Linked DNA regions of Homo sapiens: region 2 is linked to region 1. The links are contacts of gene promoters, found by promoter capture Hi-C in human tissues and cell types (Jung and others, 2019). All regions are on one chromosome and are shown on one strand. Each heading gives the region's core, a stretch centred on a gene start or on the middle of the fragment in contact. The rest is flanking DNA. Distances are from core to core; before and after follow the strand shown.

Region 1 (5,264 bases), core at 2,152-4,651:
GATAAGAGTTGGACATCAGTTATGTTTAGCTGAACGTAGATACAGGTGGTTATATATGGAAATACTTCTAGATCTGTGCATATATACGTATGTCTCTTACTCTGTCCACTGCGAAGGCCTAGAAGCAAGGACACTGAGAAGCACTGAGCATACCTAGAGCCCAGATCTTGTTTTCTGGGCCATTCTCCAATAAAAGGAGCCAGGGCTCCTTGGGAAATGGCTAATTCTAGGACTGGGGCAGAAACATACCAGATGAGTCTGGAATAGAAAGAAAGTGCTCAACAAAACAAAACAAAGCAAAACATATAGAGGGGGATATGTCAAAGGGATACAGGAGCCAAGTGGAAGAGCTCCCAATGGCCAATGGAGGAACAATTTCAGCAACAAAATAAAGTAGTACTGGATTCTGGTCCAAAGTATAAAATAAACATCCATGAGTTCAGGCCCGGCATGGTGGCTCACGCCTGTAATCCCAGGAGAGGGGATTCCTGTAATCAGGAGGCCAAGGCAGGTGGATCACCTGAGGTCAAGAGTTCAAGACCAGCCTGGCCAACATGGTGAAACTCTCTCTACTAAAAATACAAAAATTAGCCAGCCATGGTGGTAGGTGCCTGTAATCCCAGCTACTCAGGAGGCTGAGGCAGGAGAATCACTTAAACCCGGGAGGTGGAGGTTGCAGTGAGCCAAGACTGCACCACTGCACTCCAGCCTGGGCGACAGCGGGAGACCCTGTCTCAAAACAAAACAAATCCATGAGTTCACACCGATACAAATATATGACTCTGTAAGCAAAAAATAGGGGAACAGACAAATTTCCCACAGAGAACTCCAAATAATTTGCATTATATACTCTGCCTTTAAGCATGGGGCATAATTCCACACTCCTTAAATGTGTGCTGTACATAATGACTTTCTCCAAAAGTACAGTGCGGAAAGTGCAGGAGGAAAAGTAACTCTACACTGGAAAAGCCTGACTACTACCTCAAGCCAGGTGGCTCAAGCTAACAGATGTCAACAATGATAACTCATATCGATAGTATGTACCCTTGATATGATGTGATGAGAATAGCACTTTACTTCTGTGGTTGGATTAGTCCATTTTCATACCACTTTGAAGAAATACCCGAGACTGGGTAATTAATAAAGAAAAAGAGGTTTAACGGACTCACGGTTCCACATGGGTGGGTAGGCCTCACAATCACGGCAAAAGGCAAAGGGGAGGCAAGGGCATGTCTTATGTGACAGCAGGCAAGAGAGTGTGTGCAGGGGAACTGCCCTTTATAAAACCATCAGATCTCCTGAGACTTATTCACTATCAGGAGAATAGCATGGGAAAGACCCACCCCCATGATTCAATTGTCTCCCACCAGGACCCTCCCACAACATGGGGGGATTATGGGAGCTACAATTCAAGATGAGATTTGGGTGGGGACACAGCCGAACCCTATCAGTGGTCCTCCTCCCCAAAAACCCATTACCCTGATCTTACTCATGTCAAAAACAGGCAAATCCTAATTAAAGGTCCTTCTGCAAAATATCTGACCAGTCAGTACTATCTTCAAAACCCTCAAGTTCATCTAAAACAAGGGAAGTCTGAGAAACGATCACAGAGATGATGAGCCTAAAGAGATATGATGACTAAATGTAATAGGGTGCCCTGGATAATACCAGGACAGAAAAAGGACATTAGGGAAAAACTAAGGAAATGTGAATAAAGTACAGATTAGAGTTAATAATAATGTATCAATATTGGTTCAGTAATTGTGACATTTCAGATATTAGTAATAGGGGAAACGTGGGCTATATGGGCACTCACTGAAGTATCTTTGCGATAACTTTGTAAATCTAAAATTATTCTAAAACAAAAAGGTTATTGGGGAAAAAAAGAATGGGTCAACATTTCAAAACAAATAAATAAAAAACCACTGAGACAAGTATAGCTCTCAAGACTTAGCAAATACTAAATCTTCTCTTAAGACTGAAAAACTCAGATTTCACGACTGCCACAGGCCTTCATCTCCCAATGTTGTGTACTGTGCTGGTAGGCCATTCTTGGCTTCTAATGAAGTAACTTTAAATTCTATTGTGAAAATTCAGCTGAAAACAGACTGGGGAATAGAAACCAGTGTCAGAAGTTACTGTTTTAGGCCAGGCACAGTGGCTCTTGCCAGTAATCCCAAACACTTTGGGAGGTCCAGGAGGAAGGATATCTTGCCTCCAGGAGTTCAAGACCAGGCAGGAAAACATAGTGAGACTCCATCTCTATTTCAACTTTTTTTTAATTAAAAAGAAAAAAAAGCCGGGTGTGGTGGCTCCCGCCTATAATCCCAACACTCTGGGAGGCCGAGGCGGGTGGATCACCTGAGGTCGGGAGTTTGAGACCAGCCTGGCCAACATGGTGAAACCCTGTCTTTACTAAAGATACAAAAATTAGCCGGGCGTGGTGGCACACGTCTGTAATCCCAGCTATTCGGAAAGCTGAGGCAGGAGAATCGCTTGAACCCAAGAAGCGGAGGTTGCAGTGAGCCAAGATCCCGCCACTGCCCTTCAGCGTGGACGAGAGAGAGACTCCGTCTCTAAATAAATAAATAGAATGGCTTTAAAAAAAAAAAAAGGAAAGAAAAAGAAGTTACCGCTTTATGGCAATGGGTTGTACAGCCTGGCCCGTCCCATTAAAACAAATTCCTAAGAACCACGCAAAACTAGATTAGAATGCAAAGCTAAGCCACCTCTCTGGGCAAAGTCACACTGGTAGCCGGTGGGCTGAAACTGGTGTGCAGATGCCCTGCAAAATATAATTATTAATCTAAATGTGTTGTCACCATTTTAAAAATGTTTCTCATATTCATTTCTCGCTTCTCTTAGAATTCGTACAACAAACATGGACTGTGCACCTACTAAGGGCTTTACATTCACCACCTCGGTTTACCCCGCAGTACAAGCGTGTATGTCCATTTTAGAAGACGAAACTGAGGGCCAGAGAGGAACCGTGACTTGCCCACGGTAAGAGAGCCATACGGATTCGAACCCTGGCCAGATTCACTCTGGAGCTCAGGGTTCTCCTACTGCTCCACCCGTGGGAGGAAAGGCCCGGACCAGGCCATGAGGAGCCCTGGGTTCTGGCCCAGCCTCCGCACGAAAGCGCAGGGCTGCCCCAGGCGAGGCCCTCCGCCTCCCGGGGGGCTCAAATTCCCCTCCGGAAGTAACTTTCGAACAACCGCCGAGGGAACGTATTCAGGCCCTGAGCGGAGCGACAGCCGGGCCCACCAAGCGGCGCCGCTGGAGACAGGCCGGCCGGGAAAGCCAGGCCACCGCACCGAGGACGGCTCTCTCTCGGTTCCCACCCCACCGCAAAGCTGCGGCACTCACCTCCCGCGCCGCCGCGCCGCTCCCCCGGAAGTAGTTCCCTGCGACCCTGAGTCCCGGAAGTGACGCGCACTGAGCAACCAACCGGCTCTGTTCCGCCCGCGTTGCCAGGTTTCTGGGTGAGGCACCGCTGGGTTTTGTCGACTTTTGTCCCTGTTCTGTGGGTTCGAGCTGGACAAAGAGGTTTGGGGAAATGAAATCTAGAGCTTGTCAATTCTTTAAGCTCCTATATCACTCAGCTCGTTTCAGCAACATTTTTGTTTAATTAAAAAGAAAACAAAAGAAATTACTTCTCGGGGCTGGGCACGGTGGCTCACGCCTGTAATCCCAGCACTTTGGGAGGCCGAGGCGGACGGATCACTTGAGGTCAGGAGTTCGAGACCAGCCTGGTCAACATGGTGAAACCCCGTCTCTACCAAAAATACAAAAATTAGCCGGGCGTGGTGGCGGGCGCCTGTAATCCCAGCTGCTTGGGAGGCTGAGGCAAGAGAATCTCTTGAATCCCGGGAGGCAGAAGTTGCAGTGAGCCGAGATCGCGCCACTGCACTCCAGCCTGGGCGACAGAATGAGACTCTTCCTCAAAAAAAAAAAAAAAAAAAAAAAAAAGTTACTTATTCATCGCAATGGGCTGTATAGCTTGGCCCGTCTCATTGTAACAAATTCGTAAGAACTGCGCGAAACTAGATTAGAATTTTGTCCTATGCAAAGCTAAGCCATCTCCCAGAGCAGAGCACAGTCACAACTGGTAGCTGGTGAGCTAAAACGGGTGTGTAGCTGTCCTGCAAAATGTTCATCTGGATGTGTTGTCACTATTTCAAAAGTGTTTCTCACGTTCATTTCCTTAATTTTATGCCAGGTCCTGAGCTAGGAGCCTACAATGCAGAGAGGAGACAAACAGAAACACCTCTTGTAATTCAGACAGAAGCAAATCATTATAATTCATTCAAAAAGCATTCACTGAGCGCGTACTCTATGCTTTGTCCTTGTAACTGAGGACACAGTGCTAAAGCAGACACATACAGTCTCTGCCCTTGTGGTGCTTACAGTCCGTTGGAGGGAGACAGACTAATTAAATGAATGTGTAATCATATAACAGGATAAGTTTTTTGAAGGCAAAGAACAGTGTTCCATGATTAAGAAGGGGTGGGGGGCAAGTAGTAGGAGAAAAAGAAACCTAGATGAGAGTGTGATAACCAGCCTCCACCATAAACCCTGACGATTCTTGGCTCCTGATATCCATACCCCTCTGTAGTCACCTCCCACCAAGAATAAGACTGACCTGTATAACCCATAGGATATTGCGGAAATCTTGGAGCACGAGTTCCAAGATAAAGTCATAAAAGACATTGCAACTTCCTCTTTCCTCTGTCTTGATTGCTCATGGGGAATCCATGTTGTGAAGACACTCAAGCAGTCCTATGGAGAGGCTCGCATGGGGAGTAACTGAGCTGCCTGCCAACAACCAGCTCCAACTTGCCAGCCATGTGTATGAGCCAAGTGGCTCCAGCAGTCCTAGTCAAGCTTTCAAATGACTGTGGCCTGGCCAAAATCTTCAGTGTAAACTCAAGAGCAACCTTGAGCCAGAAATACCTTGCAATGCCACTTGAATGCCTGCCTCACAGAAATTGTGAAATACTAAATGTTATTGTTTTAAGCTCCTAAGTTTTAGGATAATTGGTTATGCAGCCTAGATAACATACATAGAGGATCAAGGAACAGAGGTTAGATACCAGAGACTCCAAAAAAAAAAAAGAGAGAGAGAGAGACCTATCTTGCCCTAAAGGAATTCAGTCTCTTAGAAGACAAATAATACACTCAACATTCACTAATCCCATACTATGTGAGGTGGCATGGGGGACCCAAAATGCATAATTTATTCATTTAAAAAATATTTATGG
Region 2 (4,989 bases), core at 267-2,766, 500 kb before region 1:
ATAGCCTCTATTTTCTGTTAATGTAATAGGAAAATAAGACTTAATCACTTGGGAATAGAGAATAAAACTAAGCAATATTAAAAGGAGATTTTTTAACCTGAAATGTTTTTATTTTTAAATAAGAGAATTATTTTTTAAAGCATTAAGCGTTTAACTCACAAACTTGGAAAAAGGGCAACAGAATAAACAAAAAAGTAGAAAAAAAGAATTAAAGGCGGGGGAAAGGTATACAAATATACAAAATGCTACAAGCATTGTAGACCATATATATACAAATACACATATGCATATTTATATCACACATATATGCATATATATATATATGTACACACATACATATGCATATTTATATCAAAACCAAGAGTTGGTTCTCTAAAAAAAGATGCCCTCCAAAAAAAACAAATCCAATTGGTGCCAGCTCAGTCGCAATAGAGTAAAGCATCAGGTAGATTTCTAAGGTTCCCAAGTCCAGGCTCTGGCTCTCAGATGGCATCTGTAGAGCTGCCTGGGGCTGGGGGGAACTTGCTGTCCTGAAGGGAAGGACACAAGCCTGGCTGGACTTGCCACCTGTTGACTGTAGAGCCTTTGGGCCATGAATGAACACAGGCAGCAGCCAGGCAGTGGTCAATGTGAGCCTTGGGTGAAACCAAGTGCTGTGCTGGCTTCAGGAATGACCCAGCACAGTCCCAGTGGTGGCCACAGTGGTGCTTGCTTGTCTCACCCCTCCCCCAGCACCAGGCAGCTCAGCACAGAGAGAGAGAGAGACTCCACGTGTTTGGGGAAAAGTCAGGGAAGAGAACAAGAGTTTCTGCCTAGTAATCCAGGGAATTCTCTTCGATTTTACCCAACACCACCAAGGTGGTACCTCTACAAGTCTACAAGAGCCAGAGTGTTACTGAGCTTGGGATGCCCCCTAATGCAGACACAGCTGCTGTGACCAAAGACTTAAATCACAACACCCAAGACTCTCTAAATACCTGGAAAGCCTTCCCAAGAAGGATGAATACAAACAAGCCCAGACTGCAAAGACTACAATAAATACCTAACTCTTCAATGCCCAGACACCGACAAAGATCCATAAGCATCAAGACCGTCCAAGAAAACATGACCTCAACAAATGAACTAAGTAAGAGACCAGTGACAATGCCAGCAAGACAGAGATATGTGAGCTTTCAGATAAAAAATTCAAAATAGCGTTTTGAGGAAGCTTTATGAAATTTGAGATAACACAGAAGGAACGCAAAATCCTATTACATTTTACGGATATTGAAATAGTTAAAATGAATCAAGCAGAAAAATGCAACATACTGAAGAATGCATCAGAGTCTCTTAACAGCAGAACTGATAAAGGAGAAGAAAGAATTAGTAAGCTTGAAGACAGGCTATTTGAAAATACAGTCAAAGACAAAAGAAAAAAAGAATAAGAAAGAACGAAGCACACCTACAAGATCTAGACAATAGCCTCAAAAGGGCAAATCAAATAGTTACTGGCCTTAAAGAGGAGATAGAGATATTGGGGTAGAAAGTCTTTTCCAAGGGATAATCAGAGAGAACTTCCCAAACTTAGAGAAAGATATCAATATGCAAGAACAAAAGGTTACAAAACCCCATCAAGCAGATTTAACCCAAAGAAGACTACCTCAAGGCATTTAATAACCAAACTCCCAAATGTCAAGGATAAACAAAGGATCCTAAAAGCAGCAAGAGAAAAGAAATAATATATACAATGGAGTTCCAATATGTCTGGCAGCAGACTTCTCAGTGGAAACCTTACAGGCCAGGGAAGAGTGGCATGACATATTTAAAGGGGAAGAGTGGCATGACATATTTAAAGTGCTGAAGGAACTATATTTTACCCTAGAATAGTATATCTAGTGAAAATATCCTCCAAACATGAGGGAGAAATAAAGACTTTCCCAGACAAACAAAAGCTGAGGGATTTCATCAACACCAGACCCATCCTACAAGAAATGCTAAAGGTAGTTCTTCAATCTGAAAGAAAAGGATGCCAATGAGCAATAAGAAATCACCTGAAGGTACAAAACCCACTGGTAACCATAAGTACACAGAAAAACACAGAATATTATAACACTGTAATTGTGGCGTATAAACTACACATACCTTGAGCAGAAAGACTAAAAGATGAACCTATTAAAATAATTACAACAACTTTTCAAGACATAGACCGTATAATAAGATATAAACAGAAACAACAAAAAGTTAAAAAGTGGAAGGGTGAAGTTAAAGTGTAGAGTTTTTATTAGTTTTCTCTTTGCTTGTCAGTTTGTTTCTGCAATCAGTGTTAAGCCTGTCATCAGTTTAAAATAATGGGTTATTAAATAGTATTTGCAAGCCTCATGGTAATGTCAAGAGACATGCAACAGATACACAAACAATAAAATGCAAGAAACTAAAACATACCATATGAGAAAATCACCTTCACAAAGAGAAGGAAACACCACAAAACAACCAGAAAACAAATAACAAAATGGCAGGATTAAGTCCTTACTTATCAATAATAATATGGAATATAAATGGACGAAACTCTCCAGTCACAAGATATAGAGTGGCTGAATGGATTAAAAAAATGGGACTCAACAATCCATTGCCTACAAGAAACACACTTCACCTATGAAGACACATATAGGCTGAAAATAAAAGGATGGAAAAAGATATTCTATGCAAATGAAAACCAAAAGAGAGCAAGAGGAACTGGACTTAAATCAGACAAAATAGATAGCAAGACAAAAATTAGACCAAGAGACAAAGAAGGTCATTACATAACGGTAAAGGGACCCATTCAGCAAAAGAATATAACAATTATAAATATATATGCACCCAACACTGGAGCACCCAGATAGATAAAGCAAATATTATTAGAGCTAAAGGGAGAGACAGATCCCAATAAAAGCTGGAGACTTCAACACCCCACTTTCAGCACTGGATCAAACATCCAGACAGAAAATCAACAAACATCAAACTTCATCTGCAGTATAGACTAAATGGACTTAATAGATAGTGACAAACCATATCATCCAAAAGCTGCAGAATACACATTCTTCTCCTTAGCACATGGGTCATTCTCAAGAATAGTTCATGTGTTAGGCCACAAAACAATTCTTTAAAAATACAAGAAAACTGAAATTCTGTCAAGTATCTTCTCTGATCACAATGGAAAAAAACTAGAAATCAATAACAAGAGGAATTCCAGAAACTATTCAAACAGAAATTAAACAATATGCTCTTGAATAACCAGTGGGCCAATGAAGAAATTAAGAAAGAAATTAAAACAGTCTGAAGCAAATGAAAATGGAAACACAACATACCAAAATTTATGGGATACAACAAAAGCAGTATTAAGAGGAAAGTTCATAGCAATAAGCACCTACAACAAAAAAGTAGAAAAACTTCAAATACACAACCTAACAATACATCTTAAAGAATTAGAAAAGTAAGAGCCAACCAAACCCATAATTAGTAGACGAAGAGAAATAATAAAGATCAGAGCAGAAATAAATGAAACAAACAAAAAAAGATAAAAAAGATCAACAAAATTAAAAGTTAGGTTTCAAAAGATAAACAAAATCAATAAACCTTTAGCCAGATTAAGAAAAAAAGAGAGAGGATCAAATAAATAAAAACCGGAAATGAAAAAGGAGGCATTTGGCCAGGTGCAATGGCTCACACATGTAATTCCAGCACTTTGGGAGGCCAAGAAAGGTGGATAGCTTGAGCTCAGGAGTTCAAGATCAGCCTGGGCAACATGGTGAAATCCTGTCTCTGCCAAAAATATTTTTAAAAAATTAGCCAGGCCTGGCGGCATGCAAGGGAACCTTTGGGAGTGATAAAAAGAATCTGTATATACATCATCCTATATGGTAGACACTGTGTAGCTACTGAGCATCTGAAATGTGGCTATTGTAACTGAGAAACTAAATTTTAAATATAATTTAAATAAATTTAAGTTTAAAATTTAAAAATTGATACTGGACTTATTGGAAAACATTTAAGTATCTTTGGACAAACTTAAGTATGAGAATCTATGTTTTCAACTCTAAATTTTATGAAATCTAAATACAAATCAAGCATTCTGATGAAAATTTAGCATCTGAATTGGGATGTAAATGTAAAATGTTCACTGGATTTTGAAAACTTAGTCTCAAAAAATGAATGTGAAATGGCTTACTAATAATTTTGTCATATTGATTACATGTTGAAATAATTTTTGACTTACTATGTTAAATAAAATACATTATTAAAATTATTTTTGTTTCTTTTAACCCTTTAAATGTGGTAGCTACTACAAAATGTAAAATTACCTATCTCACATTACATTTCGACTGGATAGTGCTGTTCTACATCTTCACTGTGGTGGTGGAAACATCTGTCAAAACTGTACACTTAAAATGCGTACATTTTACTGTATAAAAATTATGCCTCAATAAAGTAGACAAAAATATTAAATTGGTAGTGAATATATGCTTGTGTGTGTGTGCACATATGTGTGGGAAGGAGGGAGTATGTATCAATGAGTATCTTGTTTGTGATCTTTCTTCATCAATAATCAGAAAGGAAAAAAATTCACTGAGTATATATACATGCAAAAGTAACTGTTCTCCTGAAGCGTCATCATATTAAATTATATTATAGTTATTTAATGTGTGCATCCCTCACTAGCCTTTGAGCTTCTTGGAGGCAGGAACCCTGTTTTGTTCATCTCTGTATAAACCTAGCACTTAACGTAGAAAGTTAACATAGTACCTTAGCAGTGTTTTGCAACTGTAGAATTCTCCTAGATACTTTATATAGTTTAATTCTGCCAAAATACCTGTAAATTTGGTATTATTAGTGCCGGTTTTCAGATGAAAAACTGAGGGTGAGAAGGTCACAAAGGTTAAAGTAACTCACCAAATATCCAGAGCTAGTAAGTAAAAGAGCATGTTCCAAACCCACACTTACAAGTCCCAGGCCCATTCTTCCACCCTGCTC

The links. Contacts are between HindIII fragments. The study calls those that stand out against the background at their distance.
Region 2: a fragment that was not itself captured here is called in contact with the fragment with the promoter of MANBAL in region 1 in 1 of the 25 tissues and cell types used here (mesenchymal stem cells).

What each region holds. Positions count from the first base shown.
Region 1 is chr20:37,287,792-37,293,055 of GRCh38, reverse strand. MANBAL (mannosidase beta like) reads right to left here and starts at 3,401. Exons shown (of 3, transcript NM_001003897.2): 1 at 3,370-3,401. RefSeq lists enhancers at 1,189-1,298, 2,527-3,431, 3,504-3,613. The HindIII fragment of the contact is 10,035 bases long and covers 1-5,264 here.
Region 2 is chr20:37,781,887-37,786,875 of GRCh38, reverse strand. The region is part of intron 10 of CTNNBL1 (catenin beta like 1); the gene reads right to left. Among named protein-coding and RNA genes, the nearest start is that of CTNNBL1, 90 kb to the right of the region's middle. RefSeq lists enhancers at 132-631, 632-1,133. The HindIII fragment of the contact is 3,918 bases long and covers 1-3,475 here.